Regions from separate parts of the Homo sapiens genome. Here all the other regions are linked to region 2. Evidence: promoter capture Hi-C in 16 types of primary human blood cells and fetal thymus (Javierre and others, 2016). All regions are on one chromosome and are shown on one strand. The core of a region is centred on a gene start or on the middle of the fragment in contact, and the rest is flanking DNA. Distances in the headings are between cores, read along the strand shown.

Evidence for each region. The method cuts DNA at HindIII sites, captures the fragments that hold promoters and counts their contacts. A CHiCAGO score of 5 or more calls a contact.
Region 1: a contact is called between the fragment with the promoter of TAF4 here and the fragment with the promoter of OGFR in region 2, in 1 of 17 cell types (neutrophils). The highest score is 5.5, in neutrophils.
Region 3: a fragment that was not itself captured here is called in contact with the fragment with the promoter of OGFR in region 2 in 1 of 17 cell types (erythroblasts); the score reaches 6.7 in erythroblasts.

Annotation. Positions count from the first base shown.
Region 1 is chr20:62,064,457-62,067,472 of GRCh38, reverse strand. It overlaps TAF4 (TATA-box binding protein associated factor 4), which reads left to right and starts at 1,592. Exons shown (of 15, transcript NM_003185.4): 1 at 1,592-3,016. The coding sequence starts at 1,663. It overlaps MIR3195 (microRNA 3195), which reads right to left and starts at 2,671; the gene lies at 2,588-2,671. LOC105372705 (a long non-coding RNA gene) reads right to left here and starts at 1,019. Exons shown (of 2, transcript XR_936960.3): 1 at 782-1,019; 2 at 1-531. RefSeq lists enhancers at 303-816, 1,845-2,359, 2,360-2,873, 2,874-3,016 and silencers at 812-1,191, 1,452-1,561, 1,822-1,911. The HindIII fragment of the contact is 9,555 bases long and covers 1-3,016 here.
Region 2 is chr20:62,803,501-62,806,401 of GRCh38, reverse strand. OGFR (opioid growth factor receptor) reads right to left here and starts at 1,567. Exons shown (of 7, transcript NM_007346.4): 1 at 1,372-1,567. The coding sequence starts at 1,542. It overlaps OGFR-AS1 (OGFR antisense RNA 1), which reads left to right and starts at 815. Exons shown (of 3, transcript NR_102430.1): 1 at 815-934. RefSeq lists silencers at 634-693, 844-1,013, 1,074-1,223, 1,304-1,373 and an enhancer at 889-1,794. The HindIII fragment of the contact is 9,717 bases long and covers 1-2,901 here.
Region 3 is chr20:62,186,432-62,189,434 of GRCh38, reverse strand. The region is part of intron 1 of MTG2 (mitochondrial ribosome associated GTPase 2); the gene reads right to left. Among named protein-coding and RNA genes, the nearest start is that of MTG2, 4.9 kb to the right of the region's middle. The HindIII fragment of the contact is 847 bases long and covers 1,196-2,042 here.

The sequences.
Region 1 (3,016 bases), core at 343-2,842, 740 kb after region 2:
GAAAACTCAGACTGTCCCCCTACTGAGCTCAAGGTGCTCCGTAGGTGTACCCACAGGGGCCCTCCCCGCCATACTCAGCTTGCTTCATTCATTTCCTTTCCTGCCTTCTGGGAGCCAAAGTTCAGGTACAAAACTCCAGCTGTACGTTTGCAGTGATTTCCCCCAAACACTGTTCCCCTATAGGGGAGGCACCTCTCCTAGGCTCCGTCCTCAATGCTCATTGGCTGCTGCTGCTGTCGAGAAACAAGCCTGGGGTGAAGTCCCGTATTCCAGTTATCAGTAAGTCCATTCCTTTGCAAGGCTACAGTTCGAACAGGCACAAGGGTCCAGTTCGGGTCTGCTTTCGAGACTAGCAGTCTCCTTTGTTAAAGCAATTAAAAAAATCATTTTCTTTGTCAGCAACGTCATTCATCGTCCCGAGGTCTCTGCTTATTGCGGCGCTGTCTTCAGCTGCGAAGACTGACCCTGTGGCCTCTTGGCCCCAGTGAGGTCCGAGGCAAGGAAGCGTCTCTCTGAAACCTATTCTGGGCTCTTAGGAAGAAATGAGAGAAAGGAAAACCACTAGAAATGTCCAATAACACCATCTTTTGGTTGGAAAATAAAACACGCAGAAAGAGGGGACTGGAACTTTTACTGAAGTATTTCTAGAGAGAAGGTGCTTGGGAACACTTTAGGTAACTTACTCCCCTCCCCCAGCAGAAGGTAAAAAAAGCTACTTCCAGACGTGCCGGCTTCAGGCTCGGGAACTTCGTTTGGCGCCTGGCAAGCACCGTGCTCTTACCTACGGGCTTATACGACACTCCTGTCTCCAAGGCAGCTGGGTGCGGGGACAGTCAGCCCGGGGCGGCTGGGTTTATTGATTAAAAATGGAGGGAAGGGCCAGGGGTGGTCACGATTGGAGGGCGAGAAGAGCCGTGCGCGCAGGACCCCTCCCCACCGCCCGGGACCGGCTGAGCCAGAGGCGGACCCAGCTTCCCCGCGGCGGCTTGGAGGGGCCGGGCGCCGGTCCCCGTCCCCAGGGCGCGCTGCGACAGTCCCCTCCCCGTTCCCGCCCGCCTCCCAGGCCCATCCACTCCAGGGCCTGCGCGCCGCCCGGCGGCGCCCCGGCATCCCCGCGCGCTGTTCCCCGGGCCTCGGACGGGCCCTGCGCCGCCGCTGCCACCGCGCACGGCGCCCGCCCGGCGCTCCCGTCAGCGCCGCCGCAGCCATTTTGGAGCGAGCCGAGACAAAGAGCGAGGCCCCGTCGCCGCCCCGCGCCCGCCTCGGCCCGGCCCAGCGCACCGTTCCCGCATCCCGCGCCCCGCCCGGCGGCCCCCTCCCCGTCCGCCACCGCCCCGGCGCCCGCGCCCCTGAGCTCCAGCCCCCGCGCTTCCCGCCGCTGCTGCCGCACCCCGGCCGACCGCCCGCGCCCCGGCCTCTAGCGCTCGCAGCCATTGGCCGCGCCTTTTAAGCGCGCGCCGCAGCCAATCGCCGGGCGCCCGCGGTCTCCGCGCCTGCGCAGGGCCGCCACCCCCGCTCCCCCGCCCCCCGGCCGCGCGCCCCCGCCCCCCGCCGGCCGCGCGCCGCCCCCCGCCCGCCCAGCGCCCGCCCCAGTCGGAACCTCCTCCTCGCCCAGGCGCGCTCGGCCCGAGCGGCGGCGGCGGCGGCGGCCGAGGAAAAAAGATGGCGGCGGGCTCGGATCTGCTGGACGAGGTCTTCTTCAACAGCGAGGTGGACGAGAAAGTGGTGAGCGACCTGGTGGGCTCGCTGGAGTCGCAGCTGGCGGCCAGCGCGGCCCACCACCACCACCTCGCGCCGCGCACGCCCGAGGTGCGGGCCGCGGCCGCCGGCGCGCTCGGGAACCATGTTGTGAGCGGCAGCCCGGCCGGAGCCGCGGGCGCAGGGCCGGCCGCCCCCGCCGAGGGCGCGCCCGGAGCGGCGCCGGAGCCGCCCCCCGCAGGTAGAGCGCGGCCGGGGGGCGGGGGGCCGCAGCGCCCGGGCCCCCCCTCACCGCGCCGCCCCCTTGTCCCCGCAGGGCCCGCGCCGCCCGCCGCGAAGCTGAGGCCGCCGCCCGAGGGCAGCGCGGGGTCCTGCGCCCCGGTGCCCGCCGCCGCCGCCGTCGCCGCGGGGCCCGAGCCCGCCCCCGCCGGCCCCGCCAAGCCCGCCGGCCCCGCCGCGCTGGCCGCCCGCGCCGGCCCCGGCCCCGGGCCCGGCCCCGGCCCCGGCCCCGGCCCTGGCCCTGGCAAGCCCGCCGGCCCCGGCGCCGCGCAAACTTTGAATGGGAGCGCCGCGCTGCTGAACTCGCACCACGCCGCCGCACCTGCTGTCAGCCTGGTCAACAACGGGCCCGCCGCGCTGCTGCCGCTGCCCAAGCCCGCCGCCCCCGGCACTGTCATCCAGACGCCCCCCTTCGTGGGCGCCGCCGCGCCCCCCGCGCCCGCCGCGCCCTCGCCCCCCGCCGCCCCCGCGCCCGCCGCCCCCGCCGCCGCCCCGCCCCCGCCACCCCCCGCGCCCGCCACTCTGGCCCGGCCGCCCGGCCACCCCGCCGGACCCCCGACCGCCGCGCCCGCCGTGCCGCCCCCCGCCGCCGCCCAGAACGGGGGCAGCGCCGGGGCAGCCCCCGCCCCCGCCCCGGCCGCCGGGGGCCCCGCGGGGGTCAGCGGCCAACCCGGGCCCGGCGCGGCGGCTGCGGCGCCGGCGCCGGGGGTCAAGGCCGAGTCGCCCAAGAGGGTGGTGCAGGCGGCGCCCCCGGCGGCGCAGACCCTGGCGGCCAGCGGCCCGGCCAGCACGGCGGCCAGCATGGTCATCGGGCCAACTATGCAAGGGGCGCTGCCCAGCCCGGCCGCCGTCCCGCCGCCCGCCCCCGGGACCCCCACCGGGCTGCCCAAAGGCGCGGCCGGCGCAGTGACCCAGAGCCTGTCCCGGACGCCCACGGCCACCACCAGCGGGATTCGGGCCACCCTGACGCCCACCGTGCTGGCCCCCCGCTTGCCGCAGCCGCCTCAGAACCCGACCAACATCCAGAACTTCCAGCTGC
Region 2 (2,901 bases), core at 318-2,817:
CTGGCTAATGTTGTATTTTTAGTAGAGACAACAGTTTCACCATGTTGGCCAGGCTAATCTTGGACTCCTGACCTCTGGTGATCCGACTGCCCAGGCCTCCGAAAGTGCTGGGATTACAGGCCTGAGCCACCGCCACCGACCTCTCGGCCTGATTTCTCAACAGGGCCGCTGGTGTGGTTCTCTCGCCCCGCCTGATCATCAGTTTCTACTTCTCCTTCCTGGGGCCAGCGGGAGCCTCCCTGGGTCAGTTCTGGAGGCTGGGTCCTGACTGGATGTGGCCACACAGTCAGCCCACAGGTGCATACATGACACTGCCCAGGAAAAAGTGAAACAGCCCCGCCAGGGTCCAGCGCAGGCAGCTGGGGAGGCCTGAGGGGTCCAAAGGGGAAGGGGAGGGGCTTGTGGACAGAAGCCACAGCAGGAGGCAGAGGGAAGAGGTCAGGGGTCACGGGCGCCTGGCAGGATGGTCAGGGCCTCTGAGCACCGCTTCAGGAGAGCGGCCTGAGGAACTCCAGTGAGGAAAGCCCGTCAAGAGCCCACCCAGGGGTCACACCGTCCTGTGGGACAGAGCCAGACCCCACCCCCCTGCCCAGCCTGCCTGGCCGCTGCCCTCCCGGCGACAGGGCGGAGCCCCTCCGTGCTCTCTCACTGCCCGCTCCACCATGGCCAGGCGCAAACGCAAACAGTGCTGGGTGCCAAGGGGAGAATCCATGCGGAGCCGTCGAGTTCCATGCACTTCCCGGCCCTCCGCAACCCGGGCAGCTCAGCTGGAAGGCCGCTCCCAGATCAATCCCAGCTCCCCGACAGGGGGGCCGGACTGCGACAGTGTGGCGTTCCCAGCGCGGCAACAAAAGTAACCCCGGCGATGACAGGCGCCCGGCGGTAACAAAAGTAACAAGCGGAGGCCCCGTCGGCCCGCCCCGGGCTCCCGCAGGTGCAGACGCGAAGCCTCCCAGGCCAGACCCGGCCCGGGCCCCAGCCCCAGCCCCAGCCCCAGCCCCAGCCCCAGGCCGCGGGGCCTGCGCAGGGGCCGCCAGGAGGCCGAGGCGCGGGCCCGAGGCGGGAGGGGTTCCATCAGGGGCGGCCACGGCGGCTGGGGGCGGGACGCGCCCGAGGCACCCCCGGGGGGAACGGCGCCCACACACGATGGGGCCCGGGAGGCTCAGCTCCGCTGTCACCCACGCGCGGCCCCCGCACTTCCCCGCCGGGCCCTGGGGCTGGGGGTCGGCCGGTCTGGGGGGGGGTCCCCGGGGCTGCGGGAGCTCCAGGAGGCTCCAGGTGTCTCCGCCCGGGATGGGGGGGTCTCCCGTCCACGCAGCCGGGCGGGGGGCGCCGGGGACCCCAGGCCTCTTCCGCGCCGCGGGGCCGCACCTGGAACGAGCTGGGCCGCGCCGCCCGCGGCTCCTCCGACTCCTCGTCCTCGTCCCCTGCGTCCGCGTCCCTCGCGCCGGCGGCCTCGCCGTCCTCGCAGTCCTCGTCCTCCGCGTCCTCCGCATCCTCCTCGTCCTCCTCCCAGGTGGAGTCGCAGTCGGGGTCGTCCATGCTCGGCGGCGGCGGGGCTCGCGCTGGAGGCGGAAGCGAAACCGAAAGCAGAGGAAGCGCGGGGGGCGGGCGGGGGGAGGGGACGGAGCGGCCCAGGCCCCGCCCGCGTCCGCGCGCAACGCCCCTCCCTCCCCGGGACGCCCGCCCCGCGCCCCTCCCTCCCCCGAGAATCCCCCAACGTCCGCCCGGGAGGATGCCCCTCGCGGAACGCCCACCCCCACCCCACGATGCCCACCCGGGAGGATTCGCCCCACCCCGTCTCGCAAGGATGCCCGCCCTAGGAGATCCTCCCTCCCGAAAATGTCCCCAAAGCCTGCCCGCCCCCCAGAGGACGGTCTCCCCGGAAGATGAGCCGGGTACCTAGGAAGGATGTCTTCCCGACGATGTCCTCCCAGCAGGATTCTCTCCCCGGAGGATGCCTGCCCCGCAGAGAATCCCCTCTTCCAGGAATATTTCTGTCCCCCAAGAGAAATCCCCCCAGAGGATGTCCCCATCAGAAGAATGTCCCTTGGAGGATAACCCCCGGAGGGGCCACGTGTCCACAGGGGCCTCTCTCCCTAAGCTGGGTGTGTAGGGGTCTCTGTCCTTCTGCTGCGGGCTGGGGGCCTTACTCAGCTCCTGGAAGCTGCTGGCGGACCCCTGTCCCTCCATAGGCAGTGCAAAGCACGGCCGTTTTCTTTTCAAAGCCACCAGGGGAGTCTTTCTCTCTAGGGTGCCGAGTCTTATATAACCAGGATGACATGGGCAAGCCGTGGCTTCCTTCACCTTTGCCGCCATCTCTCAGTTGTAAGAAGGCACTTAGGGGAGAGGACCACACGAAGCCTGGGCCACCGGGAGGGTCACCCTGGGGACTGTTCAACACAGCTGATGCCAGTTCAGCGCCTCCTCAGGGCCCTCTCTCTAAGCACTGGCAGATATGGGGCAACACAAAGTCACTTTCACCTGCCATTTCCCAGCACCGCGGGTCCCTTGCTCATCCACCTTTGACATCTGCTGGCAGATACATGGCAAGGTTGGTGACCTCTTGAAATAAAAATCAGGAGTGGCCACTCCAGATAAATTTCTTCTGTAACTGCTATACCAATTCATTTCAAAACATTTAGGTAAAACTAAATCTGGATTTTGGACTTGGCCATGAGGATAGCTCCTCGCAGAGTTGTCCCTGTAATGATGGTGGTGGAAAGGTGGAGAAGGCCCCAGCCCAGCCCCTAGGGGACACTGCCATCTCCTAGCCCTGCAGGCCTGCTGGGCCTGGGAACTGGTGACATTCCTTGTACTGTGTGCCAGGGACAGCCGTGAACGCAAGTCTTCCAATCCTGGCCACAAGTACAGGTTAAGGACCCTCTGGGTGCTGGGCCC
Region 3 (3,003 bases), core at 370-2,869, 620 kb after region 2:
TGGAGGCTGAGGTGGGAGAATCACTTGAGCCCATGAATTCAAAGCTGCTATGAGCTATGAATATGCCACCGCACTCCAGCCTGAGCAATAGAATGAGAGAAAGAGACACTTTTTTTTCTTTTTTTTTTTTGAGACAGAGTCTCACTCTGTCACCCAAGCTGGAGCACAGTGACATAATCACAGCTCATTACAGCCTTGACTTCCTGTACTTAAGAGATCCTCCTGCCTCAGCCTCCTGAGTAGCTGGGGCTACAGGTAAGTGCCACTGTGCCTAATTTTTAAATTTTTTTTGCAGAGACAGGGTCTCCCAGTTACCCAGGCTGGTCTCAAGCGATCCTTCTGTCTTGGCCTCCCAAAGTGCTGAGATTACAAGCATGAGCCACCACACCTGGCCTGAGACCCTGTCTAAAAATAGAAAAATAAAAACAGTAAAGACATAAAATCTGAACAATACTATCAAAACATTTATCTAGTTGACATTTACATAACAGTACATCCAACAACTGTACAATATACACTGTTTTCAGGTACAGGTGGAAGTCATCAAACAGACCATAAGATGTGTCATAAGTCTCAATACATTGAGAAGAAATCATAGTCAGTCCTCCGTATCTGTGGGGTCAACAAACCTCACGTCAAAAATATCTGGAAAACAAACAAAAAAACCAGTAACAATACAACAATTTTTTTAATTTAAAAAATAAAGTATAACAGCTATTTACATAGCATTTACATTGTATTGTACTATAAATAATCTAGAGATTACTTGAAGTATACAGAAAGGCCCGGTACAGTGGCTCACACCTGTAATCCCAGCAGTTTGAGAGGCCAAGGCAGGAGAAAAACTTGAGGCCAGGAATTTGAGAACAGCCTGGGCAAAATAGCGAGACCTTGTGTCTACCAAAAAAAAAAAAAAAAAAAAAAAATTAGCTGATTAGCTGGACATGGTGGTGCATGCCTATAATACCAGCTACTTAGGAGGCTAAGGTGGGAGGATCACTTAAGCCCAGGAGTTGGAGGCTGCAGTGAACCATGATCACACACTGCACTCCAGCCTGTGTGACAGAGCTTCTGTGGTGGGGCTGGGGGGAAGTATATGAATACCAACCACAGGGTCTATTCTCGGAATTAAATTGGAAGTCAATAGCTAGAAAATATCTAGGAAAATCCCAAATACCTGCAAATCAAACAAGCTTCTTCTAAATAATCCATAGGCCAAAGAAGAAATCAAAAGAGAAATTACAAAATGTTTTGAACTGAATTATAATGGAAATGCAAAATACCAGAATTTTTTTTTTTTTTTTTTGAGACAGTCTCGCACTGTCGCCCAGGCTGGAGTGCAGTGGTGTGATCTCGGCCCACTGAAAGTTCTGCCTCCCGGGTTCACGCCATTCTCCTGCCTCAGCCTCCCGAGTAGCTGGGACTACAGGCGCCCGCCACCATGAAATACCAGAATTTAAGAGATGCAGCTAGAGTAGTGTTTAGAAGGAAACTTACAGCTCTAATGGCTACCTTGGTAAAGAAGAAAGATCTAAAATCAGTAACCTAAGGCTCCAAATCAAGAAACCAGAAAGAGCAAAGTAAGCGTCGAGTAGAAGGAGGAGAATAATACAGAGCAGAAATAAAGAGACAACAATAACATGTAACAGAAAAAAACAGGTTCACTGAAAAGACAAGCTAACTAACACACTTCTAGCCTGATCAGGAAAACGAGAGAGCGCAAACCTCCACTGTCAGGAATGTTCAACGGGTTATCAGGACACACCTTACAGACAGCCAGAGGGCAAGAGAATGCTGGGAACGACTTCATGCCAGCAAATTCAGTAACAAATTCAACTTACATGAAATGGACAAATTTCTTGAAAAAGGCAACTTATTAAAGAAACACAAGAATAAACAATCTAGAATAGCCCTGTATCTACTCAATAAGTTAAATTTCTTATAAAAGAACACTCCCCAAAGGAAAACTCTAGCTCGGCTTGTTTTCCTGGTAAATTCCATGTAACATTCCAGGAAGAAACAGTGCCAATCTTACACAAGCTTTTTCAGAAAATAGAGGAAGTGAGATCACTATCCAACTCATCCTATGAGGCTAGTACCAAAATCTGACACTAAGAAAAAATAAAATTATAGACCATACCCCTCATGAATATAGATGCAAATAACTCTTAACAAAATATTACCCAATTGAATCCAGCAGTTCAGAAAGGATCACACATCAAGACCTAGTAGGGGTAATCTCAGAACACAAGGCCACATCAAGCAGTCAAAACTCAGCCCAGGCACTTCACTATATCAACAGGTGGTACCACCGTCTCAACACCCACTCATGAGGAGGAAAACAAAACATCTCAGCAAACTGGGAACAGACGGGAACATCTTCGCCCTGATAAGGGCACTACGTAGGGCCGGCCGACAGCTAATCACATTTAATGAAGAAATACTGAATGGTTACCTCCCAAGATGGAGAAAAAGGGCCTCCACACATACCACTGCTATGCAACAATGTCCTTTCACACACTGAAATAAAGGGGGAAAAAAGGAAGAAGTAAAACTGTCCCTGTTTACAGAAGAGAGGACAGAGTTCCACAGAGAATCCCAGGGAAGGCTGGGCACGGTGGCTCATGCCTGTAATCCCAGCACTTTGGGAGGCCGAGGTGGGCGGATCATTTGAGATCAGGAGTTCAAGACCAGCGTGGCCAACATGGTGAAACCCCATCTCTACTAAAAATATAAAAATTAGCCAGGCGTGGTGGCACGTGCCTGTAGTCCCGGCTACTCGGGAGGCTGAGGCAGGAGAATCGCTTGAACCTGGGAGGCAGACGCTGCCGTGAGCCGAGATCACGTTACCGCACTCCAGCCTGGGTGACAGAGCAAGACTCCATCTCAAAAAAAAAAAAAAAAAACAAAAAAAAAAGTCCCAGGGAAGGGAACTGAGCAAGATGGCATGTTATCAGGCTAATATAAAAAAATCAGTTGTATTCTTAAATACCAGCCGCAAAC